Regions from separate parts of the Homo sapiens genome. Here all the other regions are linked to region 1. The links are contacts of gene promoters, found by promoter capture Hi-C in human tissues and cell types (Jung and others, 2019). All regions are on one chromosome and are shown on one strand. Each heading gives the region's core, a stretch centred on a gene start or on the middle of the fragment in contact. The rest is flanking DNA. Distances are from core to core; before and after follow the strand shown.

Region 1 (3,895 bases), core at 71-2,570:
CTCCACTCCAGGCCTCCGTTCTGTCCGCGGACTTATGATCCTGCCTGCCAGCAGGAGTCTACCCTGAAGTCGCGTGGGATAGATAAAGTGAGGAGAGGAGGATGAATGGACAGACAAACGAGAGCAATTCTTCTACCTGTGGGCTGTCCTACGCCTTGCAGTGCCGGGTCCTGCGGCGACCACTGAGCCCCTTCGTCCTCGCCCTCAGTCCCTTCGTCCTCGTCTTCGGTCTCCGCTTTCCCAGTCGGCCGGGGCTCGTCGTCCACGACCCCGCACGTGCCGCCGACGTCGCCCTGCCGATTCCGCCGCAGGAGGTGGAACTGTAGTGGTGCCGGCGGCTTCTCCCCTGGGGCGGCGGTGGCGAGGCGCTCGCTGGCGGCGGGCAGCGGCTGGATGAAATACGCCTCCCCCAGCAGGTAGAAGGCGCCGCGCACGCCCTCGCAGAGGCTGAGGGCGGCAGCCGAGCTGGGATCGCCATTCACGGTGCCGGAGTAGAAGCAGTGCGCCAGGTCGGTTTCCGGAAGCGGCGTCTCGGACCCGGATTTGCGCCCCACGTTCTGGAGCGTGAAGCCGGGCGCCAAAAAGCTGCTGTCGGGCCGCAGCTCCAGATCCAGCTGCTGGTCAAAGGCGTGCAGGCGGAGGCGCGTGGTCCCGTGTCCCGGGGCGCGCTCCAGCTCCGGCACCACTAGCTCCTCGTCCTCCTCGGAGGGGCGCCCGAGTGCGTCCGACACGGCCAGTAGCGCCGCGGCGAGCAGCAGCAGCGTGGGTACTGGCCCAAAGCTCCGAGACCCCGGAGCCCGCTCCGCGTTCCCCATGTCGCTGCCCAGCTTGCGCCTTCCGAACCCCTCGGGCACAGCTCGCTGCATTGGAGCCCCAGGAGACACCGCTCGTAGCAGCGCACGGAGCGAGGGACCTTTAGTTCGGGTCGGGAGAGCAAAGCCTCGTTGGCCTGCTCTGGATTGTTAAAATTAACAATTTCTATTATTCGTTGGAAGGGCGCGCAGAGCCGGCTACAGCCGAAGCTCCCGGAGTCACTAAAAGGAGGCGCTGCAGTTCTGCCGGCGCGCGGGAAGTTTTTCTTCCAGCGCAAAGTTGGAGACACTGAGAGGCAGGCGCAGGCAGAGTGGCTCTGCTGGGACAAGAAGCGCTCTGGGGCGCCTCCGGGGCTGAGGCAACGCGGAGATTGGTGCCTGGCGCCCCTCTTCGGCCTCCGCCTTGGCTGCGATGTTGCTCACTCTGCTCAGGGCTCTCCCCTCTCCGTCCGGTAGCGCACCCTGGCTTTGCAATAGCCCCTGGCTCGGAGCCGCTTTCCAGCGAGTGCAAGAACCGGGCAGCCGAGCGGTCCTTTTATAGTGGACCAGTGAAACCCCCACCCCCACCCCACTCCTCCCCTTTGGCCCTTTTCCATCCCAAAGACGCCGCCCCCGGCTCCGTTGGTGCTAAACCGCGCTCCGCGCTGCGGGCTCGGGAGGGGGAGGGGGCAGCCTCCGCGCTGGCTCCACGCCACTGCTCGTCAATCTAGGGGCGGAAGGGGCGCTGTGACCAGCACTTTGTACTGCTGGGGCCGCTCCAGGGAGAAGACTCTCCCTTCCACCGCTTTTCTCCCTCGCCGGTTTCCTGGACCACCCTTCCTCCCCACCGCCCGGTTGCGGTAACTCAGTTACCGCGCTGGGCTGCGGTTCCCAGGAGGGAGGGTTCGGTTGGAGAACGCAGTCCCTTCTTCAACATTTCCCTATCCTGGAGCTGCCCTGGGTCTCCTTCCCTCCTCCCTCAGTTCCCTCTTCCCCAATCTAGGAGATGAGCTAGGGCTACACTTTCTAGAAAAATACCTCACCCCACTTCTCCACCTTCCCAGCCTGCCAGGAGCTCCTTAGCCGCCGCCTGCTCTCTCTTCGCCCCAGCTTTTCTAGGGAAAGCTTGGCCCTGCGCTTCCCCCAGAAAGCATGCCTGGGTGAGGGGCCAGGTGACACTTCCTACGATCTGGATTTTAAAATATGTTTGCTTATGCCTTCACCCTCCACCAACCCCCACCCCGCACGCCACCTCTTCACCAGAGACGACTTTGTGAGGGCCCGGTTTCACATTTCTGGAATGGGTGATCTGGGACGCGGCTCAATTCCCTAGAGCATAAGGAGGGAATTGCGCTTTTTCTTCTTCATTCGAGAAATGATCGGCTCCCGCCAGTCTGCGTGCTTTCACTCAACAGCAGCTGCAAGCCCTAGGCCAGCGTCGCAGAAACGGCCAGGAACCCCACTTTCCTACCCGGGGGCCAGCAGCGATCGCTGGGGCTAGCAAGCGTGCAGAGGGGGAAAGAAGGAAATCGGCTTCCTTCCCGGACCCCTCCTTCCTCTTCCTACCAGGAAGGGAAAAGGCTATATCCGCGTTACGAAAGCGAGGAGAGGTCCACCAACAGGTCCTTAGGAAAAAAAACTGAGTGGCTCTTCTCTCCAAAAAGTGGGAGGGGCTCAAGGACCCAGAGGAAGGACGTGTTTCACAGGCGGAAAGCCGCGGGGACAATGGCGAGAGCGACCGCCCTAGCCCCGGGCGGACCCGCAACCCTCACACTCGCGCGCCCCCGCGTTAGTGCTCGAACTGGTCTCCGCCTTTCCGCCCCACTCCCGTCCGGTCTCTTGGTTGGCTCCAAGTAGATCTGGGTCCTTTCCTCGCTCCTCCCCAGATCTTCCCCACTTCAGTTGGCCCCAGCCAGAAGCGTCCCTTCTAGTTCTCCCACACGTCCCTCTTACAAGCTTTCTTTTCCGGATGCTTTCCAACTTCTTTTTTCCTAGCGAGATTGCTTACTTGAAAAACAAAAACAAAAACATTGCTTTCCACTCATCAGGAAAAATCAAATGAGCAAGAATGGCAGAGAGAAGCAACTCAGCTTACTTCTGAAGGGCTTAGTAACGACCTCTAGTCCCTACACATTTAGGAGTGGGTGGTTTCGTAGATTTAATTTTGGTTTCCTAAAATCACCCTCATCGTTGAACGTTGAATAATCAACCAAGGCCTTAGATATATTTTGACAGCGCTCGATTAACATTCTGATAGTGTTTCTGCCTACCTCTTTTCACTGAGTCTCTCCTTTGCAGCCCTCGCTGTCTCTCCCCCCCTCCCGCCGTTGCATTTCTCCTTCAAACTCAACATTGACATCCGCACACCTGAGTGTGTGATTCCTTTCTGCATTGTCAAGCATTGTCCAGCCTACCTCCTTCTCTTCGACTTCGAACTACGAGGATTATTCCTTCCTGTTTCTCTGTTTCCCAAGCGTCTTTTCCCAAACATCTGATCATTCCTACTTCCCAGTTTGGTTTTCAGACTTTTTTTTTTAACATTGTTATCTTCTATTACAGTAATTTTTTGACGGTCCATTTTCTATGATTTCATTTCATTTTACTGGTTCTTTCTAGCTAGAAAAAAGGCAAGATACTTGAGAGAACATATGAGGAAAGTCATGTTAGACTTTCAAGATATTGACCGCGGGATCACAAAAGCTTGAAGGCAAAGCCATCCGTACATTTTCAACCTCTTGCTTAGAAAAGGGCTCAGAAGATAATATATGGTGACAACAGTTACAGCCTCAGAGTGGCTTTGAGATGGAGATTTGAGATGGAGATTTTGGACACTCATAATCTCCATCTCAAGGAGAGGTGGCCCAGAGGCTGAATGAAGATGAGTGAAGGTAGATGTGATTCCCTTAAATTGGGGCAAAAAGGGACAAAAACAGCAGAAAATCTGTATCTTTAAAGACATATGTAATGTATTTCAGTCTATCAACTTCTCTACATAAACTTTAGCTTTTAAAAATATGTTAACGTAAGTTTGACCTTTAGTGTGTTTCTACCTGCAGGGTATTCTTATTGGAGGTTTGTTTAAAAGCATACATTTCTGATCTTGA
Region 2 (3,625 bases), core at 1,126-3,625, 1.2 Mb before region 1:
TCCTCTTCAGCCATACTTTCTGAGAGTAGGTTACACTTGGAACCTCCCTTTAATCTGGCCACAGCCCCATGACTCTGCCAAACTGTTCTCAACAAAGTCACAGACCTGCTTGGTGTCAACCCAGTGGACATTTTTTGGTCCTCATTTTCTTAATACCAATGCTCACCTCCACTTCTCAATGTGTTCTTTCTTTCCATTTTTATTTCTTTGTTCTTTTTTTTTTTTTTTTTTTTGAGGCAGGGTCTTACTCTTATCACCCACCCTGGAATGCAGTGGCATAATTATAGCTCACTGCAGTCTCAAACTTCGGGCTCAAGCGACCCTCCTGCCTCAGCCACCCAAGTAGCTGGGACTACAGGTGTGAGCCACCATGCCGGGCTAACTTTTTTTGGTAAAGATAGGGTCTTGCCATGTTGCTCAGGCTGGTCTCAAACTCCTGGTGTCAAGCAATCCTCCTGCCTCAGTCTCCCAAAATGCTGGGATTATAGCGATGAACCACCACATCCAGCCTCAAAGTGCTCTTTCCATGGGTATCAGTGGCATTCCTTACTGCTTGTTATTTTACATCTCTGGCCACTCCTGTCTTTCTCTACCCTTTGAGAATTCTATCCTACACCCTCTTTTCACGCTAAGCATCCTCCCTAGGTCAGCCCCTTGAGCTACAACTTATGTAGTTGTATGTCCTATATCTCTGCTTCTAATCTACCTACCTCTTCTGACCACCAAACTGTATATCCAAGACCCATTTGGACATCCTCTAGGATGTTCCACAAGCACCTTACCCTGAAATTTGCAAACTGCACAAATTACCACCTCTTTCCCCGCCCAAACTTGTTCTTCCTCCTGAATTTCCTGTCTTAGTACGATACCACCAACCACCCAGGTGTCCATGTGAAAAACCTGGGAGATTTCCTTGATTCCTTTCTCCTACCATATCTCCTTTATTCAATTCATTATCAAGTTGTCAATTTGACTGCCCAGTATCTCTCAAATCTACCCAATTCTGTCAGTATAGCTAAAGGCACAGATGAAACTGCACAGCCCAGGTTCAAACCATGACTTTACCATTTACTATTGAGAGCTTTGTCTGTTTACCTCAGGGTGCTAAACAAGTAATATGTGTAGGTGCACCACAGGTGTATGCACAATTATGTGGCAAAGTTAGGGAACACTGGTTTATGCAAAAACACCCACTGACTGCTACAGTCCCCCAGGCACTAATAAGGGTGCCAATTCCCTTGAATACTTATCCCTCCTGACCCACCTCCAAGAGATGCTCCTGTCCCCTGAGAGTCAAAGCCACAAAAAGGTCCCACCCTTACTCCTGCAGCAGAAGGACTCAATCACTGACCCACCTTCAATGAACCAACTCTTTTGTCCTATCAAGCTTCCTCCAGAATTATCCCCTTCCTCCTACCACACACTCAACTAAGTTACAAAAGTCCCAGAAGCCGCTACCAGTCCTTGACAGTTAGAGGAATGGGAAATCTCAATGTGTACTGAATGGAAGTCAAAAGTACACTGTCCAGTAAAGTACCATGGTGCACTTAAATGTGATTAGTACTAGTTAAAATGTGCCTTAAGTGTAAAACACATACCAGGTTCTGAAGATTTAGTGAAAAAGAATATAAAATAACATCAATATTTTAATATTGATTACACTGAGTAACATTTTAGATGTATCATTTAAATAAAATCATTAAAATTAACTTCAACTTTTGTTTTGACTTTTTTTCAATGCAACTACAGAAAATTTCAAATTATACAGATGTCTCATATTATATTTCTTTTGGGCAGCATGTGCCTAGACTTTTGTCACAGAGAGTGACTTCACGTGTTCAGATAGTCCAAAGAATTTTCTTGTCGAATCAATGCTATAAATGGTGGTTTGGTTCTACAATACTATCTGTACTCTAGTTAAAACAGTACATTACAACTGGTTTCTAAATCCACTGGTTCCAGGACACGCTAAAAATGTTTCAAGAAAAAGTGTTTCATGGGCAAATATATTTGGGAAATTTTCAATGTCCACTTTGGGAGACCGTTGAGTGCGATGAGTAAAAATTTTTTTTTTTTTTTTGAGACGGAGTCTCGCTCTTTCGCCCAGGCCGGACTGCAGTGGCGCCACCTAGGCTCACTGCAAGCTCCGCCTCCCGGGTTCACGCCATTCTCCTGCCTCAGCCTCCTGAGTAGCTGGGACTACAGGCGCCCGCCACCACGCCCAGCTAATTTTTTGTATTTTTAAAAGAGACGGGGTTTCACCGTGTTAGCCAAGATGGTCTCGATCTCCTGACCTCGTGATCTGCCCGCCTCGGCCTCCCAAAGTGCTGGGATTACAGGCGTGAGCCACCGCGCCCAGCCGAGTAAAATTTTTTAAGCCACTGTTCTTCAAACTCAGCTTAACACAGTACATGGTTTCACATGTCAATTAACATCCTATAGAAGAATACTATAAGACAGACTGCTTTGAGAAATGCCAAGCTATAAAGTATGTGTCAAAAACACACTCATAACCCAATATATTTACGATAACCTATCCCTATGAGAATTTGTAATTCAACTTCTATATACCTAAAGAAATTCTAATCAGTAAACTTTCACAATTCTTAGGTGCATATTTTGGCTTCAGACTCTGTTATTTTTTTTTTTTTACAGCACAGGTTTCTCTTTCTAGTTAGTTCTAATATTGTATTAGATTAATGTTAAAATTTAGCTCATGTTCTTACAACTGGTAGTAGAAGGTGAACTGAAAGTTTTCTGAGAACTGAGAAGCCAGGCAGGAATTAAAATGTTAAAGAAAATCCATCAAATGAATAATTCACATGCAGAAGATTAAGACCTGGCTGTGTAAACATTTTACTTCAGCTGTCAGCCCCCTCCCAAACTGCTTGCATTTTCAATCTTATCAGTGTCATTTTAAGTGTGGAGGGGTAGGAGAGAAACACTGCCAAATACACACAATTATATAGTCGCTTAACGTACATTATCACTTCACACTAGAAAGAAAAAAGGGAAACATGCCACTATGTTGATATAATGAGAAAGGCTGGTCCAAGAACAGAGAAGTAAAACAAAGTGAGAAAATTATCAAGGGACATGGGTAACATTTTCCTCAGCGAAATAAATGAGATCACAGAGGTCTCAGACTGGAAAATAATACACTGTCACATGTATATCAAATATAAAAATTTTTAAGACCTGAATTTTCTTTATTACATATAATACTGGGAGAGTTAGCCTTGATTTAAAGAAAGCCAACACTTACTTGCTGTGTTGAAATATTTCCAATGCCACTTTTGCTTCAACTTCCAGAGTTTCAAATGGAAGATCTTTATAAATTAAAGCATGAGCATCTTTTGTGAAGGAACGTAAGTTCTCCTTAAAAATGAAAGTAATAACCTTTAGTAACAATTCACTGAAAAGCATTTCTCCATAAGCCAGTTGAAACAAAACTCTATGCTTAGTACTGCAAATCCAACTAAAATAAAAGATAAAATCAAATTTGTTAGAACAGAAAGTTACTAATTTGCAACAACTGAAGTTTTGGACCATAAACTATAAAACTTCTTATTTACCTGTAATTAAGGTGTCAGCCTTCATTAATACTAATTATTAAAGAGAAAAC
Region 3 (3,659 bases), core at 594-3,093, 1.2 Mb before region 1:
TGAATAAAAAATTTCCATCATTCTGTCAATGAGAACTTGAGAATCTAGGTGGTGATATATAACACATGGCCCAAATGTTGATAACTGATTATTTAATTTACAAACAGGCTGGCTGGCTGATTTTTACTTGCCCCAGTTTCATGACACCCCGTAATAGTTTAGAGCAGTGGTTCTCAAGCTTTTTTCATTATATCCCCCACCCAAGTAACGTTTTTAGACCTTTTCCTAATCTCCCCCGTGACATTTTAATGCAGTTGATCAATGATATATCTGTTTATGTACTGTATATGTATCTGTGTTTTAAAGATTAAAAGAGTAAGCTTTTTCTTCAACCCTCAACAGAATAATTTTCTTTCCCTTGGGAAAATATTGCCCCTGCTTGAGAATGCATGGCCCAAAATAGGTATCCAGATTTGATGCAGTAAGAAAATGTAGGATGAACAATCTTCCTCAAACGTGGCTCTTCTTTGCAGCTTGTTATTTTCAGTAGCAGAAAAGGAGGTAGCTATTTTATTACATTTGAATATTGCCTTGCTGTTCCGTGTGGTCCACGATCACCAGCACCTGGGAGATTGCTGGAAATGCAGGATCCCAGCCTCACCTTGTCCTGCTGAATCCAAATCTGCATTTTAACAAGACTCTCTGTTGATTCCGATGCATGTTGAAGCCTGAGAAGCACTGGTTGAGAGTTCAGTCCCCTGCTCAGTTGGAAAACATTAAGTGTAACTTAGTGTGAATAGAAAAAAATAGGCATAGGCCCTAAAACCAATGTTTAAGTCTCCCCATCCCTTTCTCTCAAGTCCTCACTAATACCCCAAGTTTCTTTCTTAAAAGTCATCAGTATTACTTTTCCAACTTAGACCTGAGTGTATTTTGTTTGTGTGTGTGAGAAAGGTTAATTTTATTTACTTCTCCTAAGCAAGCAAGGGAAACGGCCCGTGGAGTTTCACCCTGCTAGCTCCTCTGCTTCTTTCCTTGTGCTCTTCTATTCTAAAAAGCAGGGACCTTAGATTCAGTTGGACAGAGCAAGATAAAAACAAGAAAGAACACAAATTTCTGTTTTTCTCCCCAATAAATTGGACTTTCAACTCTCAGTCAAGACCTCTTTAAAGTTAAACTTATTTTAATAGTGATCATTTCTCTTGGATCAAGTGAATAAGTGGACCCAGGAACACAATAAAGAGATTTTCTCTATTTTTGCTATTTTGAAGAGCCAGCAAGTTAGTGCAGGGAAGAGGGTATAGAATTAACTCAATATACTTGGGCCCTTATTTATGAAGATGAGGTTAACTTATTAATTTTTTTATGTATGTGAAATTTTGAAATATGTGTGAAACATCTCAACCATACAGAAAAAGCAGAAAAAATAGTGTAACAAATTCTAGATACTCACACCTAGTACTATGGTCTGAATATTTGTGTTTCCCCAAAATTCAGATGTTGGAACCTAATCCCCAATGTGCTGGTACCAGGAGATGGGACCTTAGGGAGGTGATTAGGTCATGAGGGTAGATCCCTCATGAATGGGATTAGAGCTCGTATAAAAGAGCCAGAGGGCACCCTCTCCCCTTCCACGGTGTAAGGACTCGGTGAGAGGCATTATCCGTGAATCAGAAAATGGGCCCTAGCCAGACACTGCATCTGCTGGCAACCCTTTGATCTTGGACTTCCCAACCTCTAGAACTGTGAGAAATACATTCCTGTTGTTTATAAGCCACCCAGTTTATGGTATTTCCTTATAGCAACCTGAACAAACTACAGCACATAGGTTAGCAATTTGCCACATTTTGCTGCTTCTTTATTTTTCTGAAGTATTTTAATATAAATTATGGATAGTATGACATTTCACTTCTAATTCTACAGTGCGTATGTTTTTTTTAAGTAACTTTTTTATAAAAGATGAGTTTTAATTAACTAAAACTGTTGAGTTTAAAACTACAGGGATTTCCAGTAGCAAAAAGCTTCCATTATTCTTCCTATTGCTTTTTCTCCTAATAGCAAAGGTCAAGAAAAGAACTTGAACCTGCTAGAATTGTTCCAAGTACCAGCTGAGGCTTTATTCTTTGGTGTTTCAAAAAAAGCCTTGACAGTAGAAAGCTAAATTCTCTTTCATCATAAACCATTGATAAACTGTGGTCAAGTTGGGCCAAAAGCCAAATCCTTCCTCACTGAAAAAAATGCTGTGGAAAGATTTCGCTAAATAACAGTAGCTCTTTCTTAACTAAGAATCTCAGTTAATATTTTGGTGCTTTTAAATGCAGAAAGAGGGAAGGGAGGGTAGAAAAAAGTGATAAAAGGAGAATCAGAAGAGAGAAAAGAAACAGATGATCTTATGAATCCCCAATTTATATCCCCCAATTAAGGCATCTCTTTCTTCTGTCTCCCTATATCCCTTTCTATTCTAACATTATTGACCCACTACAATAAAATTAAGTATACTTTAGGCTGGGCATGGTGGTTTACACCTGTAATCCCAACACTTTGGGAGGCCGAGGCGGGTGGATCACTTGAGGTCAGGAGTTTGAGACCAGCCTGGGCAACATGGTGAAACCCCATCTCTACTAAAAATACAAAAAAATTAGCCAGACATGGTGGTGCACGCCTGTAATCCCAGCTACTCAAGAGGCTGAGGCACGAGAATCGCTTGAACGTGGGAGGCGGAGGCTGCAGTGAGCCAAGATCACGCCACTGCACTCCAGCCTAGGCCACAGAGCAAGACTCTGTCTCAAAATAATAATAATAATTATTACACTTTAAACAGAGACAGGGAGAAAATGTGTTCCAGTTCAGTGGCCGGGGGCAGTAAAGAAAAAAATAGCTGTAGTAGCTGAGTCCAGGTCGCTTACCATTTTGACATCTTTCCAGCCCTAGTATATGGTTTTGCTATTAGGAGAATTGCTTAATCTGGCTGGGTGCGGTGACTCACGCCTGTAATCCCAGCACTTTGGGAGGCCAAGGTGGGCAGATCACTTAAGGCCAGGAATTCGAGACTAGTCTGGCCAACATGGTGAAATGCCGTCTTTACTAAAAATACAAAAATTAGCCGGGTGTGGTGGCACATGTCTGTAATCCCAGCTACTCAGGAGGCTGAGGCAGAAGAATCACTTGAATCAGGAGGTGGAGGTTGCAGTGAGCCAAGACTGTGCCACTGCACTGCAGCCTGGGAGACAGAGGGAGACTCCATCTCAAAAAAAAAAAGAATTGCTTAATCCAGCCGGGTGCAGGTGCAGTGACGCATGCCTGTAATAGCAGCACTTTGGGAAGCCAAGGCGGGCAGATCACTTAAGGCCAGGAATTTGAGACTAGTCTGGCCAACATAGTGAAACTCTGTCTCTACTAAAAGTACAAAAATTTGTCAGGCATGGTGGTGCACGCCTGTAATCCCAGCTACTCAGGAGGCTGAGGCATGAGAATGGCTTGAACCTGGGAGGTGGAGGTTGCAGTGAGCTAAGATCCTGCCACTGCACTCCAGCCTGGGAGACGGAATGAGATTCTGTCCCCCCAAAAAATTTTTTTTAATTGCTTAATCTTTGTTTCTGAATTTGCAGACTCAAACATAAGAGCAGTGTAGTTTTCTATTTGAAAATGCCTTTAAGATCACATATCTCAGTCCCATTTTCTGTATACAAAGAACCAAAGTTCCAGAGGTGTTAGGTGGC
Region 4 (3,563 bases), core at 754-3,253, 1.3 Mb after region 1:
GAAGGGGTATGGAGCTTCCATGCCCTCCCTGGGCTTGCCACCCTCTAGGAACCTCCACATGTTCATCTATCTGGAGGCTCCCTGAACCCCATCCTTTTGGGGTTTTATGGAGGCTTCATTACATAGTCACAATTGACAACCGTGTAGAAATGTGACTGGACAAATAACACATAATCTAAACCCAATGAGGCTTGTCTCTTCAGACTTTTCTTGGCCTCTTTGTGTAGCATTCTTTCTTCTAGGGTAGGAGCAGGGACCTTCTTTGGAATGAGAACTTTTTTTTTTTCTTTTTTTTGAGACAGAGTCTTTCTTTGTTGCCAGGCTGGAGTGCAGTGGCACGATCTTGGCTCACTGCAACCTCTGCCTCCTGGATTCAAGCGATTCTCCTGGATTCAAGCGATTCTCTTGCCTCAGCCTCCCGAGTAGCCGAGACTACAGGCACACACACACCACCACACCCAGGTAATTTTCGTATTTTTTAGTAGACATGGGGTTTCACCATGTTAGCCAGGATGGTCTCGATCTCTTGACCTCAAGTGATCCGCCCGCCTTGGCCTCCCAAAATGCTGGGATTACAGGTGTGAGCCACCATGCCCTGATGGAATGAGAATATTTTGAACTACAATCAGATTAGAGTCTTGCCTGTGGAAGAAGGACAGGAGAATTTCAGAGAGAGAAAGAGAGTTTCTGTTCCATGAGGTCTGCTCCTGAGGCCTAAAGTGCCCCAGCATTATAATAGAAGGGTATAAAAGGGGCTATGGGAGTTATCAACCAGGAATCATCAACAAAATCACAATATACTTCCGTCAAAAATGTAGTAGCCTTCTTATCTATGTACTTCCTGTCAGTTCCTTGTGACAGAAACCATACCCATTGCTCTTTCCTTGATTTAAATCTCAAGATTAATTAGTTCCTTGTTCCCATCATCATGTGTCTTTCTCAAAAGAATGTTGTTTACCTTAAGATGATCTGGTTCTCTGGTTCTTTAAGTTGTAACACCACAACAATAAAGTTCTAGGATAGAACTTTTTTTGTTTTAAAAAACGTATTTTTAAATGCCATGAAATTTAATGTGGCCCTCGGAAGTCTGAAGTGGGAGAATAATGCATTGACAAAGTTTACTGAACTGGCAATTCCTTTTCCTCCCACCTACAGTCTCCAAGCTGCCACTCTTCCTGCTCTCTCTGTCTCTCTTAAGGGCTAAAGATGCAATGTTTCTGGCTTCAGGGATCACTGGAACTATTTATTTCTTTAAAAATGGTTTTTATGTCATAGCACATATGATAAACCTTAATATTTCATGATACACTTAATGATATTGTACTGCATACCCAGGCTAATAGAAGAGGCTAGTCTCAATTTGCAGCAATAGCTCTGGCTGTGTAAGGCACTCACAATCAGATACAGTAGGGAATTTGCATCTTGGGCATATATGTCACCTGTACCCAGCTTGATTTGGGAGATTATGCAACTCATATCAACTTCAGGATAGCACTCACTTCTACAGAAGGAGGTAAAGGAAATGGATGGTCAGGATGGAATAGGAGGCTCAATTGTATTTATAGTGGTTTGAAACATGTTTACAAATTATTTGATGCTTTCTCATCAAATGACAGAGTTAATTTTCTCCCCTTGAATCTGATTGTCCTTACTGACTCCTTAGGAATAAAACATTGTTGAAATGATAGATGTGACACAGAAAGATAAGCCATACAAGATATTTGTAGTTTTCATCTTGTCTCTCAGAGCACTCACTTGGAGAGAAAGCCAGCTGACTTGTGAGGACACCCAGGCAGCCCTATTGAGAGATCCATGTGGGGAGAAACTAAGGCTTCCTAGCTAAGTCATGTGAGTGAGCAAACTTGAAGCTCGATTTCCCAACCCCAGTGAAAGTTTCAGATGACTGCACCTCTGGCCGCAAACTTGTGAGAGACTTCAAGCCAGAAGCATCCCACTAGGCAACTCCTAAATTCCTGAGCCTCAGAAACTGTGAGAAAATAAATGTTATGGTTTTACATCACTTATTTTGGGAGCGATATATTATGAAGCAATTCATTAACTAAAACAATATTTGTAATGTTTTATGCTCAGAAAATCTAAAGCAAATATGTGAAAATAGGATAAATTAGGGTAGGTGGCAGGTACATGAATGCCACTGAACCTGTTTATTTAACACTTATATTGAATTTACTATGTTTCCTTCATTGTTCTATAATGCATTTAATTCTTATGAGTACTCTATGTGAAAGATACCCTTCATTTTACAGATGAGTAAAATGGAGTCTAGAGAGATGCTATACATTGTCAAAGGTCACCAATGAATAAGTAGCACATACAGAATTCATACCTGGACAGTATTACTCTGTGGTTTCTAGTTTTAGCATTACACTATTTTATGGATTATAACAATGTCAGTTATTTGCAAATCTTTGAAATATTTCATAAATCATGAAAACTTAAATGATGAGATCCTTTTTTCCATCATTTTGATAGCCTTTTGTATATGCAAAGATTTATAATTTGTCTTTGTTAACTTTTTGGGCAAAAGGAGAAAAATTTAAAGATTAGAATGGAAAAAAAAGAAAATAAAAATAATTTTATATTCAGCAGCATATTAAGAAACTATTTGTTTATTTCCTAAAACATTAAGGCCAGAGTTTTTGCCTTCCATGGTTCAGGGGTGATTTAAAATTTGATGACTTTCTTCCTGAAAATCATATTTATGTGTCCTGTCAGGCCTTGAGCCCAAGCTAAGCCATCATATCCCCTGTGACCTGCACATACACATCCAGATGGCCGGTTCCTGCCTTAACTGATGACATTCCACCACAAAAGAAGTGAAAATGGCCTGTTCCTGCCTTAACTGATGACATTATCTTGTGAAATTCCTTCTCCTGGCTCATCCTGGCTCAAAAGCTCCCCTACTGAGCACCTTGTGACCTCCCACTCCTGCCAGCCAGAGAACAACCCCCTTTGACTAATTTTCCTTTACCTACCCAAATCCTATAAAACGGCACCACCCCTATCTCCCTTCACTGACTCTCTTTTCAGACTCAGCCCGCCTGCATCCAGGTGAAATAAACAGCCTTGTTGCTCACACAAATCCTGTTTGGTGGTCTCTTCACACGGACGCGAGTGAAATTTGGTGCCGTGACTGGGATCAGGGGACCTCCCTTGGGAGATCAATCCCCTGTCCTACTCTTTGCTCCATGAGAAAGATCCACCTACAACCTCAGGTCCTCAGACTGACCAGCCCAAGGAACATCTCACCAATTTCAAATCCAGTAAGCGGCCTCTTTTTACTCTCTTCTCCAACCTCCCTCACTATCCCTCAACCTCTTTCTCCTTTCAAGCTTGGCGCCACACTTCAATCTCTCCCTTCTGTTAATTTCAGTTCCTTTCATTTTCGGGTAGAGACAAAGGAGACACATTTTATCTGTGGACCCAAAACTCCGGCGCCGGTCACGGACTCGGGAAGACAGCCTTACCTTGGTGTTTAATCATCGCCGAGATGCCTCTTGGATTATTCACCCACGTTCCACTGGTGTCTGATCTCCGCAGGG
Region 5 (3,809 bases), core at 452-2,951, 1.3 Mb after region 1:
CCATCCATGTTGTTGCAAATGACAGGATTTCATTCTTTCTATTGCTGAATAGTACTCCATTGTGTATCTGTACTGCATTTTATTTATCCATTCAATTCTTGATAACACTTAGGCTGCTTTCAAATTTTGGAAGCCAAAAGAATTTTTGAGGAAATCAACCAGACAATTGTCAAATTTATACGGAAACACAAAGGACCTTCAATAGCCAAAATAATTTTTAAAAAGAAAAGATTTTGAGGGCCTACAGGTTATGATTTTAAGATTATAAAGCTGTGTTATAAGACAATGCAGCAAAGCATTAGAAAAAAGATGGAACAGGATATAACTGTATTAGTCTGTTCCCTCACTACTGTAAAGAACTACCTGAAACTGGGTAATTTATAAAGAAAAGAGATTTCATTTGTTCACAGTTGGGAAGCTGTATGGGAAGCATGTTTGGGGAGACCTCAGGAAACTTTCAACCATGACGGAAGGTGAAGGGCAAGCAGTCACGTCTTACATGGCCAGAGCAGGAGGAAGAGAGAGTGGGGAGGTGTTACACACTTTTGAACAACCAGATCTCATAACTCACTCGCTGTCATAACAACAACACCAAAGGGAAAATCTGTCCCCATGAACCAATCACTCCCCACCAGGCCCCACCTCCAACATTGGGGATTTCAATTTGACATGATTTGGGTGGGGACACAGACTCAAACTGTATCAACACCCAAACACATATAGTCAATTGCTTTTTTGAAAAAGTTCAAGGACATTTAATGGGGAAAAAAGTATCTTCAATAAACTAGTGCTAGGACAACTGAATATCAGCCTAAAAGTTGTGTATCTATTCTTACCTCACCCCATCTACAAAATTAACTCAAAATGGATTATAGATTTAACATATGAGCTGAAATATAAACTTAACAAAAGAAAAGGTAGGCATATATCTTTATCATCTTGTATAGCACTGACCATGCGAGAAAAAAGAATAAATTGACCTTATATGGGACTTATATATTCAAATTTTACAAAAGAAAAAACTTGGCCGGGTGCGGTGGCTCACGCCTGTAATCCCAGCACTTTGGGAGGCCGAGGCGGGCAGATCACGAGGTCAGGAGATGTAGACCACGGTGAAACCCCGTCTCTACTAAAAAAATACAAAACTTAGCCAGGTGTGGTGGCGGGCGCCTGTAGTCCCAGCTACTCGGGAGGCTGAGGCAGGAGAATGGCGTGAACCCAGGAGGCGGAGCTTGCAGTGAGCAGAGATTGCGCCACTGCACTCGAGCCTGGGCGACAGAGAAGAGACTCCGTCTAAAAACAAAAATAATAAAAAATAAAAATAAAAAACATATTAATAATGAGAAAGTAAACTGTGATTTAGAAACTGGACAAAAAATTTGGACAACAATTTCATACAAGAAGGTATGAAATAAGTAAATAAATATAAACATACACAATATAATTGGCTGTCAGGTATACAGAAATTATAACTAAAGTGAAATATTACTACACAAACAGAAAATCTCATCAAAACAACTTTTGATGATTTGACATATAACTTTTTTTACTTTAAAATGGTGCAAAAGCAATACACATTCAGTAGAAAGCAGTAGAAAACCCTCTTGGGATGTTGGACAGTGGCAGGGAGCTAAGGCTTCCAGTCAGCCACAAGATCACCAGAGTAAACAAGAGATACTCTACAGTTTGCTGTGTTGCCAGATGATTTTGCTCAAGTGTAGAATAATGTAAGTGTTGTGAGCCTGTTTAAGGTAGGCTAGGCTAAGCTATGACGTTTGATAGTTAAAGTGTATTAAAAATGCATTTTCAACTTGTGATATTTTCAACTTAACAATGGATTTATTGGGGCATAACCCCATCGTGAGTCGGGGAGCATCTAGTACTAAAATGGCTAAAAGTAAGACCAACAATATCAGGTGTTAGAACGGAGAGCAACAGGAAAACACCACCAAAGAACTACCTGAAACTGGGTAATTTATAAAGAAAAGTTATTTATAACTCATAAACTGCTGATACATATAAAATATATAAAATGAAACAACTAATTTGCAAAAGACATTGTGGTATAATCACACAACCCTAGTTGGAAATAAAAGATATGAATTACTGATACCCCAAATGACACAGATAAATCTCAAAAGCACCACGCTGAACAAAAGGAGTCAGACACAAGAGCACACATCTATTTGAATCCATTTACGTGACATCTAGGACAGGCAGAACACCAGTCGACAATGACTGAATTCATATCCATTGGTGCCTGTGTTGAGGACTGGGGAAGATTGTCTACAGAAGAGCATAAAGGAACACTTTGAGAAGATAAAAAAGATCTAATTTTCAATTGTGGTGGTTACATTGATATGTACAGTTAGCAAAACTTATCAAAGTGTACTCTTAATGTGGTCATTTAATTATATGTAAATCATATCTCAATAAAAGTCAATTTCTTTCAAAAATACCACAAAAAGATACCACCAACAGGGAGTAGAATGACTAAAATTTGTTAAAGATTTACCATAAGTCCTTTCTGTTGGAGATTATGTGCAGTAACAAGAAACTTTTGTATATTTTGACTGAAGGTATAAATAGCACAGCTACTTTGGAAAACAATTGTTCTATTTAAAACAGTTTACATAATGTTAAAAATAAAAATATCACATGACTCAGTAATATCATTCTGATAAGAAAAATAAAAATGTATGTATCATAAGATCTGTACAAAAATGTTCATAACATTTCAAATATCCCCAAACTGAACACCCTAAATGTCCATTAACAGCTGAAGAGATAAAGAAATTATACTATATTCACATAATGGAATATTACTGAACTATAAGAAAAAACTCCTGATATATGCAACTGATTCATAGAGGAATCTTAAAACATTATGCTGAGGAAAAGGAGCCAAACACATAAGCATACAAATTAAATGATTCATATATATATATAACTCTAAAACATAAAAACTAAACTTTAACAATAAAAATCATACCAAATCCATACAAAAACCTACATATGAATGTCTATACCAGTTTTGTTATATTTTATTTTGTTTTTTGAGACAGGATCTCACTCTGTCACCCAGACCGCAGTGTGGTGGTGCGATCTCAGCTCACTGCAGCCTTAACCTCCCGAGCTCACGCAATCCTCCCACCTCAGCCTCCCAAGTAGCTAGGACTACAGGTGTGCGCCACCACGCCCGGCTAATTTTCATACTTCTGGAGTCACGGGATTTTGCCAGGCTGCTCTTGAACTCCTGAGCTCGAGTGATCTGCCACCTCGGCCTCCCGAAGTGCTGGGACTACAGGTTGCGTCACCACACCCTGTAACGGTTTCATTTTTAATTGTCAAAACTAGAAAACAACCAAGATTTCCTTCAGTGGAGGAACGGAGAAATAAACAATGGTATATCCAGACAATGAACTATTATTCAACTTAGGGGAAAGAAGAAGCTATCAAGCAAAAAATAAAAAATAAATGGAGGAAGCTTAATGCATATTACTGAGTGGAAAAATCCTATCTGAAAATACTATTAATACATACTGTATCATTCCAAATATACAACACTCTGAAAAAAAAAACAAAACTATGGTGCAGTAAAAGGATCTGTGCCAGGGATGAGTAGAGAAAAGAGATGAATAAAAAGAGGTGAATAAGCAGAACACAGAGTTTTATGGCAGTTAAACTACTCGAAACGATACTTCAATGGTAGATACGTCTCCCTGTATATTTGTCAAAAGCCATATAATATATAAACCAAGAGTGAACCCTAATGTAAACCCTGAATTTGGATGATATGATTTGTCAAG
Region 6 (3,892 bases), core at 1,027-3,526, 1.2 Mb after region 1:
TTTACATTCTTGGAGTTTACATTCTAGTACAAACATTGGCAAACTGTTTCTGTAAAGGGCCAGATAGTAAATATTGTTTGTAGATCATACAGTTTCTCTGTTGCAACTACTGAACTCTCCTGTTGTAGCATAGACACAGCTCCTCCTCTCTAAATACAAAAATGAATAGCTGTGGCTATATTCCAATAAATAATTACACATGAAAACAGGAAGCAAGCTAGATTTGGCTCTGGGGTTATAGTTGGCCAACACTTTCTCTGGACAGAAGACACAGGAGAAAAAGTGACAGGCAAATACAGAATATGTCAGATGGTGATAAGTGATGTGGTTTTAAATAAAGCACATTCAGAGAAATAGGACATTCAAATGGGAAGGCTATAACTAACTGCTATAACAGATAAATCAAAAAATTTTAGTGGCTTCCCAAAGAGCCATTTTCTCAGTGTTTATGTGAAGCCCAATACTAAGATTTCTTATTAGTGGGAAGCCTTCCATGTGGTCATTCAGGAACCCACCCTCCTGCTCTCTTGTATCTGCCCTCCTGAGAACTCTAGAACCCTGTGTTCAGTTGGTGGTTGAAGAAAGGGAGTAGAGAACAGCACACAGGCATTTTAAGGAAGCAGGATTACAAGGTTTGATCAATTCCACTCAGTTTATATGCATTTTCTTCTCTAAAAGCTCCATTGCCTGACTTCACCTAACTTTAAGAAAAGCAAAACATGCAGTTGAGCTGGGTATCCAGGGGCATTAAAAAAACAGGATTAGGCCGGGCGCAGTGGCTCACACCTGTAATCCCAGCACTTTGGGAGGCCGAGGCGGGCAGATCACTTGAGGTCAGGAGTTTGAGACTAGCCTGGCCAACATGGTGAAACCCCGTCTCTACTAAAAATACAAAAATTAGCCAGGCATAGTGCTGGGCACCTGTAATCCCAGCTACTTGGGAGGCTGAGGCAGGAGAATCACTTGAACCCATGAGGTGGGGCTTACAGTGAGCCGAGATCGCACCACTGCATTCCAGCCTGGGTGACAGAGCATGACTCTGTCTCAAACCAGCAAACAAACAAGCAGGATTGAAGATCACTGAGCAACATTTAATTTAGGAAGTGTTGCTCTTGTAAGCAGGGTAGCCAGAAAAAGTTTTCCTGGCCTTTCTGAGGAAAGCAGGGGGCTAATGTGGCAGAGATTTGCAGGGGGCATTCTAATATTTAGGCTAGCTTTGTGCTTCTGAATTTATCTCTTTACAGATAGATTAGTCATGAGACTGAGCAGTAGTTGTTGAAATGTGGGAAGGAAAAATACAGGCCATTTACAGGTCAGACTCCTAAAACTCACTGTACTCTTCTCCTTGCTTTTTCTTTCTCTCTTTGGGAACAAAATCAAGGACTTAATCTCGGCTTAGAAGAGAGCTAACCAGAGGTGCCATAGTCAAAAGTTCAGTTTCCACCAAAGCCCAGTAACAGGCCACAAGCTGTCTCTCAAAAAGAGAGTAGTTATCTGCAGAAGATGGCAGGGCCTTGCTAGAAAATTCTAGAGGCCCCTGCTGTGATTGACCTATAGGGGCCTGCCAAAGGCTCCAAACAGCATTCCTATCTGCCACTGGCACCTCAAGCACCTTTGTATCTGCTGGGTCATATGGCCCAAGTGGCAGAGCAGCTTGCATAGCAGCCTGGACCTGTTGCAGAGCCTTCTCCTGTTCTGGTCCCCATTCAAAACTGGAAACTTTTTGGGTCAGTCAGTAAATGGGCAAGAATAACACACCCAAATGAGGAATGTGTTGCCTCCAAAATCCAAATAGGCACAAAACCACTAAGTGTTGTGCCTTTTTCTTGCTTGTAGAAAGGGCCAAGTGCGGCAACTTATCCTTTACCATAGAAGGAAGGTCTCAACATGTCCAACACCACTAGACCACTAGACCCCTGGAAATTTTACTGAGGTAGAAGGTCTCTGAATTTTAGTCAGATTTATTTCCCATCCTCTGGCATGCAAATGTCTTACCAATAAGTCCAGTATGTTCGCTACTTCTTGCTCACTGGGTCCAATCAGCATAATGTCATTAATGTAATAAACCAGTGTGATATGTTTGTGGAAGTGAAAAGTGATCAAGGTCTCTTTGAATAAGATTATGATCCAAAGGCAGAGAGTTCACATACCCCTGAGGTAGAACAGTAAAGGTATATTTACTATAAAGGTATACTTACATTGCCAGCTGAAGGCAAATTGCTTCCAATGGACAAGAATAGAGAAAAAGGCATTTGCCAAGTTAATGGCTGCATGCAAGGTACCAGCAGACGTGTTAATTTGCTCAAGTAATGAAACCACAACTGGTAGAGCTGCTGCAATTGGAGTCACCATTTGGTTAAGCTTACAATAATCCACTGTCATTCTCCTAGATTCATCTGTCTTCCCCACAGGCCAAATAGGAGAGTTGAACAGGGATGTAGTGGGAATCACCACCCCTGCGTCTTTCAAGTCCTTAAGGGTGTCACTAATCTCCGTAATCTTTCCACGGATGCAATATTATTTTTGATTTATGATTTTTCTAGATAGAGGCAGCTCTAATGGCTTCCATTTGGCCCTTCTTACCATAATATCCCTCACCCTGCCAGTCAGGAAGCCAATGTGGGGGTTCTGCCAGCTGCTATGTATGTCTATGCCAATTATGTATTCTGGCACTGAAGAAATAACCACAGGATGAGTCTGGGAACCCCCTGGAGTTGTGTAAGTAGGGCCTGAGCTAAAACTCTATCAATTACTACCTCCATAAGTCCCTACTTTAACTGGAGGACCACAGTGACATTTTGGGTCTCCTGGAATCAACGTCAGCTTAGAGCCAGTGTCTAATAGTCCCTGAAACGTCTAATCATTTCCCTTTCATCAATGCACAGTTGCCCTGGTAACAGGTCAGAAGCCTCCTCGGGGAAGAATGGGAGAAAGAATAACAGCATAAATTGTCAGTAGTATAGTGGGGTTCTTGATCAAAGGGACCTGGCCTCCCCTTTATTCAAGGGGTTCTGGTTCTGGCTCCAATCTGGAAATTAATTGAGGGGCCATGGTTCTCTGTTTTTATCATTCAAATTAGTCTTTTGTCCATTTGACCTGGATGTTTTCTGCCTATATAAATTAAGCAGGAATTCAGTAGGCTTCCTATCAATTTCATTTCTAGGAACATCACGATTAGCCAATACCAGAGCTCTACACGAGTTTGCACTATTTAATTGCTGCTTTGCCTCTGCTGTCCATTATAATAGCTATGCCCACCTTGCCTTTGATGGTTTAGTGCTGCCACTTGGCCCCTGCCACCTCAGGATCCAAGTATTCCCATTGTATTTCAATTTTGTAGTTGAGTGACTGCAGTTCCCACTGTTAGATCTGATATACAGAGAAGAGCAATTACAGGGCTCTTCAAAGATGCAGGTGCTGCTCTCACAAGTCTATTTCACAAAACACTGGCCAAGAATATATCTTCTGGACCCACCCAGCTCGGATAGGTAGGTGTAAAGTGACTAATCTCCTCCATCATCCCAATCTTTCTAAGCCTTTTGATTCTTTCCTCTACATTAACCCAAGGGAGGAAATTAGGCATTTCCAGCTCGCTCACAGTAGGCTATCTTTTAATCCATATTTCAGCCAACAAAGCAAATAAACTATCAGAACCATTTTTTAACTCCCCAAGCTGTAACATTAAATGCAGAGTCCCTACCTAGTGGGCTTAAATCAATACGTTCAGCCTGATCCAACTCTATGTTCCTTCCACTATTATCCCATACCCTTAATATCCATTCCCATTCCTGTTCTCCATATTTATGCTTATATAAATAGAAAGCTCAAGCAGTTCTTTTGAGTGTAGTGCACCTCCTCATAGGTCACACTCTCAACCTCCCCTTAGGGGGGG
Region 7 (3,530 bases), core at 10-2,509, 1.3 Mb after region 1:
CTTAGCAAAGTTGTCCTACGTTCAGGTGAAAAATAGAACTTGTAAATGATGAAATTGAATACGTAAGTAAGGATATTTCCAAGCAAAGGGTTGAAGAAGCCGCCTGGCTTCTTGTTTCTTCTCATAGCAAAATGCAATGAGAAAGAGATAATTTGAGAAAAGAACCGTTTAAACAAAAAGAAACCAAGACATAATGATTTTGGAAATTCTCAGTTTATTCAGACTGCAAAAGATATTAAAATAAAGAAACTCAGTAACAGGGATAGATAATCTAAAGAAAAAGCCTAGGACACGGCTGTAGTAACCTTCTGTTTTTATACCTCAGCAATTTGCTAATGCCTCAAAAAGATCAAAAGTACTCAAATATAAAGGGCTCTTTGAAGAGATTAGATTTCCTCAATCAAACCAAAGAGCATCGAGGAAGCTTAAGGTTACTGTCCCTCACATATCTCAGCAGAAGGCAAAAATAGAAGACTGATTATCTAAGAAAGATCTCTGAAAGAGTCTCATATTATGGAGTGAACCCCTGTGGCATACATGGGAGACCCACTTGGTTCTTGAGAATTTTATATCAGGAGAAACACTGTCAGTCTGTATTGAAAGGAACAGAGAAAATACGAAATTAAAGAAGACTATTAAACCTCCAAAATTCTGGCAGGAAAGAAGCTTACACAGCTACTCAGTTGCAAAGATCTGCCACTTTTCATATACATGAAAGGACTCAGAGGAGGAAGCCACAGGTTTAGAAGGAAAAGCTAAAAGCAACATCGTATTAGTCTTGGATCTAGGAACCTAATTTCTCTAGCAGAATCTAGAAATGGCTTGGGACAAGTGATTGTTTTTTTACCTAGGATTTTCTCCCTCTTGAAAACAGGACTGTCTGTAACTATTATCCTATGCCTGCCCTACCATCATATTTCAGAAACAGGTAACTTATGTTTTCACTTTCAAAGATTCACAATAAAGAGAAATTGTACCTCAGAATGGATTATACCAGAGCTTTCCTCATGCATAAATTAAATAATTTAGGTTATGTGATTTGAAGCTTTTGAGTGGGTGAGGTGACATTTTGGATGCTGAGTTGGTGCCGTAGTGAGTCCAGAATTCTGCGGAACTTGGTTTCGGTTAATGAATTTTGTAGGTGAGATAGTCTTAAATCTTTAGAGTTTAGAAAGTGGAATGTCCTACCCAGCATAAAAATCCCCCAGTGATGTACATGTCCTAGTTCCCAGAACCTATACATAGGTTAACATATATGGCAGGCGTGATTACGATTAAATAATTTGATATGAGTAGATTATTGTCAAGGTGGTCCCAATCTCATCACAGCAGTCCTAATAAGCAGAAAACCTTTCCAGGCTTCCCTGTTGTCAGTGAACCAGGGAAGCCTGGTGTGTGGGAAGAACTCTATTCGCCATTGGTTGCTTTAAAGATGGAAGGGGCCACAAACCAGGAAATGTGGTTGGTTTCTAGCAGCTGGAAAAGGCAGGAAAGAGATTTTCCCCTAGATCTTCTGAAGAGAAATGCAATCCCACTAATACCTTGATTTTAGCTCAGTGAAACTTTTGTCAGACTTCTGACCTATAGAACAACAAGGTAATAAATTATTGTAGTTTTATACGACTAATATTTTGGTAACTTCAATGGCAGCAATAGAAAACAAATGCATGTAAAAATTATTGCCCATGAAAACTTTGTTTCAGTAATGTATATATACATATATCTCAGTCATATAGATAAAGAGGTACATACATACATACACATACATATATGCTACAGAAAGTTCACCCTCCTCAAAGTAGTATGCAAATGGACTGTACAAACTGAAACCATGAAAAGTGATTTTAATAATCAATGGGAAAAATTATAATTGTACCGTAATCTTTAATGATGTTTGTCAAGACTTTACAATCTCTCTTATTGTTGGTTATAAATTTACAAAGAATTAAAAGGTAATAAAACTAGTCTTACCTAGTACTCTTTAATTTAAAACACTTGAAACATTGAGGTTGAAGTACTTTACTTCTTTGTAAAAAACTTAGTATAAATTGTTGATACACTCAACACTTGGATGGAAATTGTTGGGTATTACTTTAAGGGAATTATACTAAATGAAAAAAAATGCAATCTCAACAGGTAACAAATTGTATATTTTCATTTATAAAATAGTCACAAGATTACAAAATTGTAGAGGAGGAGAATAGATTAATGGTCATAGGACTTAGTTGTTTCGGGGGAAAGAGGTGGGTATGATTATAAAGGAAGCATGGTTCCTATGCTGCTGGAACTGTTGTGATTGGAGTCGTGGCTACGGAAGGCTACATGTGTGCTAAAATTGCATAGAACTGCATATGTACATGTTTATATATGTTTTTATGTTTATTGTCATACAAGATGTTACCATTTGCAGAGTCTAGGTGAAGGGTACATGGGGGCTCCTTGTATGTTTTTTGAAACTTTCTGTGAATCTATACTTATTTTAAAATATAAATAAAATCTATCAACAGTTTTTGTCCTCTACTTCTTATTTATAACAAATGATACAGAGTGAGCATTTTTTTCTATGCATTGACAACTTCTCATATTCCTATCTAACCTTGGACCAACTCTCAAGATTTTATCCTTTGTGCTTTCAATATCTGGAAAAAAATCCTGAGATTTCCTTTCATGTGAAGGTTTTTCCTGACATCACTTTCTCTCAGACATCTTCATAACTGCCTTCACAATGACTTTCATTTATTTATTTATTTATTTATTTATTTATTTATTTATTTATTATCTTTTTTTGAGATGGAGTCTCACACTGTCACCCAGGCTGGAGTGCAGTGGTGTGATCTTGGCTCACTGCAACCTCCACCTCCCGGGTTCAAGCGATTCTCCTGCCTCAGCCTCCAGAGTAGCTGGGATTACAGTCGCCCGCCACCACGTCTGGCTAATTTTTGTATTTTTAGTAGAGATGGGGTTTCACCATCTTGGCCAGGCTGGTCTTGAACTCCTGACTTCGTGATCCACCCCTCCCTCGGCCTCCCAAAGTGCTGGGATTACAGGCATGAACCACCGTGCCCGGCTCACAACCATTTTCTTAATTTACATTAATAAGTTCATCTTCAATGAGTGTCTTTGACTACATACTAAAGTCTCTCAAACATCAGCTGTGTCAATATTTTCACCCTTAGCTATTTCTTCTATAACTTTGCTTACATTTAATTTAAATTTTACTTACAGTGTTACCACTTTTTTTTTTTCCTGCACATTTACCTTTGCTGACCAACTCATTTTTTTTGCTCATACTTTTGTTGTAAGCTGTCACCAACTTCCATCACTGGGAAATAAGGAGGGACACAACTACATGCCTTGGTATTTAAGGGTAAACTGAGTAACAGATCTTCATTGACCAATCACTGACAGACTTCGAAAGAAATGACACAATGACTGGTCACTGGTAATGATGTACAGTGATTTGTGCACTGTAGGGCTAGCAGTAAAGTTTGTCCTTTAAGCAATTTTTTCCAGGTAATATATCCTGGTAA

Evidence for each region. The method cuts DNA at HindIII sites, captures the fragments that hold promoters and counts their contacts. A contact is called where the count stands out against the background at its distance.
Region 2: a contact is called between a fragment that was not itself captured here and the fragment with the promoter of ADAMTS1 in region 1, in 1 of the 25 tissues and cell types used here (dorsolateral prefrontal cortex).
Region 3: a contact is called between a fragment that was not itself captured here and the fragment with the promoter of ADAMTS1 in region 1, in 1 of the 25 tissues and cell types used here (dorsolateral prefrontal cortex).
Region 4: a fragment that was not itself captured here is called in contact with the fragment with the promoter of ADAMTS1 in region 1 in 1 of the 25 tissues and cell types used here (mesendoderm cells).
Region 5: a fragment that was not itself captured here is called in contact with the fragment with the promoter of ADAMTS1 in region 1 in 3 of the 25 tissues and cell types used here (dorsolateral prefrontal cortex, hippocampus and mesenchymal stem cells).
Region 6: a contact is called between a fragment that was not itself captured here and the fragment with the promoter of ADAMTS1 in region 1, in 2 of the 25 tissues and cell types used here (dorsolateral prefrontal cortex and mesenchymal stem cells).
Region 7: a fragment that was not itself captured here is called in contact with the fragment with the promoter of ADAMTS1 in region 1 in 6 of the 25 tissues and cell types used here (H1 embryonic stem cells, IMR-90 fibroblasts, dorsolateral prefrontal cortex and 3 more).

Annotation. Positions count from the first base shown.
Region 1 is chr21:26,844,089-26,847,983 of GRCh38, forward strand. It overlaps ADAMTS1 (ADAM metallopeptidase with thrombospondin type 1 motif 1), which reads right to left and starts at 1,321. Exons shown (of 9, transcript NM_006988.5): 1 at 137-1,321. The coding sequence starts at 866. RefSeq lists enhancers at 1,505-2,105, 2,106-2,705. The HindIII fragment of the contact is 5,494 bases long and covers 1-2,331 here.
Region 2 is chr21:25,594,037-25,597,661 of GRCh38, forward strand. MRPL39 (mitochondrial ribosomal protein L39) reads right to left here. Exons shown (of 10, transcript NM_017446.4): 6 at 3,266-3,378. Among named protein-coding and RNA genes, the nearest start is that of MRPL39, 12 kb to the right of the region's middle. The HindIII fragment of the contact is 7,524 bases long and covers 1-3,625 here.
Region 3 is chr21:25,623,086-25,626,744 of GRCh38, forward strand. No RefSeq gene overlaps it. Among named protein-coding and RNA genes, the nearest start is that of JAM2, 14 kb to the right of the region's middle. The HindIII fragment of the contact is 3,979 bases long and covers 1-3,659 here.
Region 4 is chr21:28,158,704-28,162,266 of GRCh38, forward strand. All of the region lies in intron 5 of LINC01695 (long intergenic non-protein coding RNA 1695), which reads right to left. Among named protein-coding and RNA genes, the nearest start is that of LINC01695, 68 kb to the right of the region's middle. The HindIII fragment of the contact is 7,950 bases long and covers 1-3,563 here.
Region 5 is chr21:28,116,552-28,120,360 of GRCh38, forward strand. All of the region lies in intron 2 of LINC01697 (long intergenic non-protein coding RNA 1697), which reads left to right. LINC01695 (long intergenic non-protein coding RNA 1695) reads right to left here. Exons shown (of 6, transcript NR_126012.1): 6 at 1-3,323. Among named protein-coding and RNA genes, the nearest start is that of LINC01697, 70 kb to the left of the region's middle. The HindIII fragment of the contact is 6,644 bases long and covers 1-3,809 here.
Region 6 is chr21:28,035,679-28,039,570 of GRCh38, forward strand. No RefSeq gene overlaps it. Among named protein-coding and RNA genes, the nearest start is that of LINC01697, 11 kb to the right of the region's middle. The HindIII fragment of the contact is 3,864 bases long and covers 345-3,892 here.
Region 7 is chr21:28,139,004-28,142,533 of GRCh38, forward strand. All of the region lies in intron 5 of LINC01695 (long intergenic non-protein coding RNA 1695), which reads right to left. Among named protein-coding and RNA genes, the nearest start is that of LINC01695, 88 kb to the right of the region's middle. The HindIII fragment of the contact is 3,850 bases long and covers 1-3,184 here.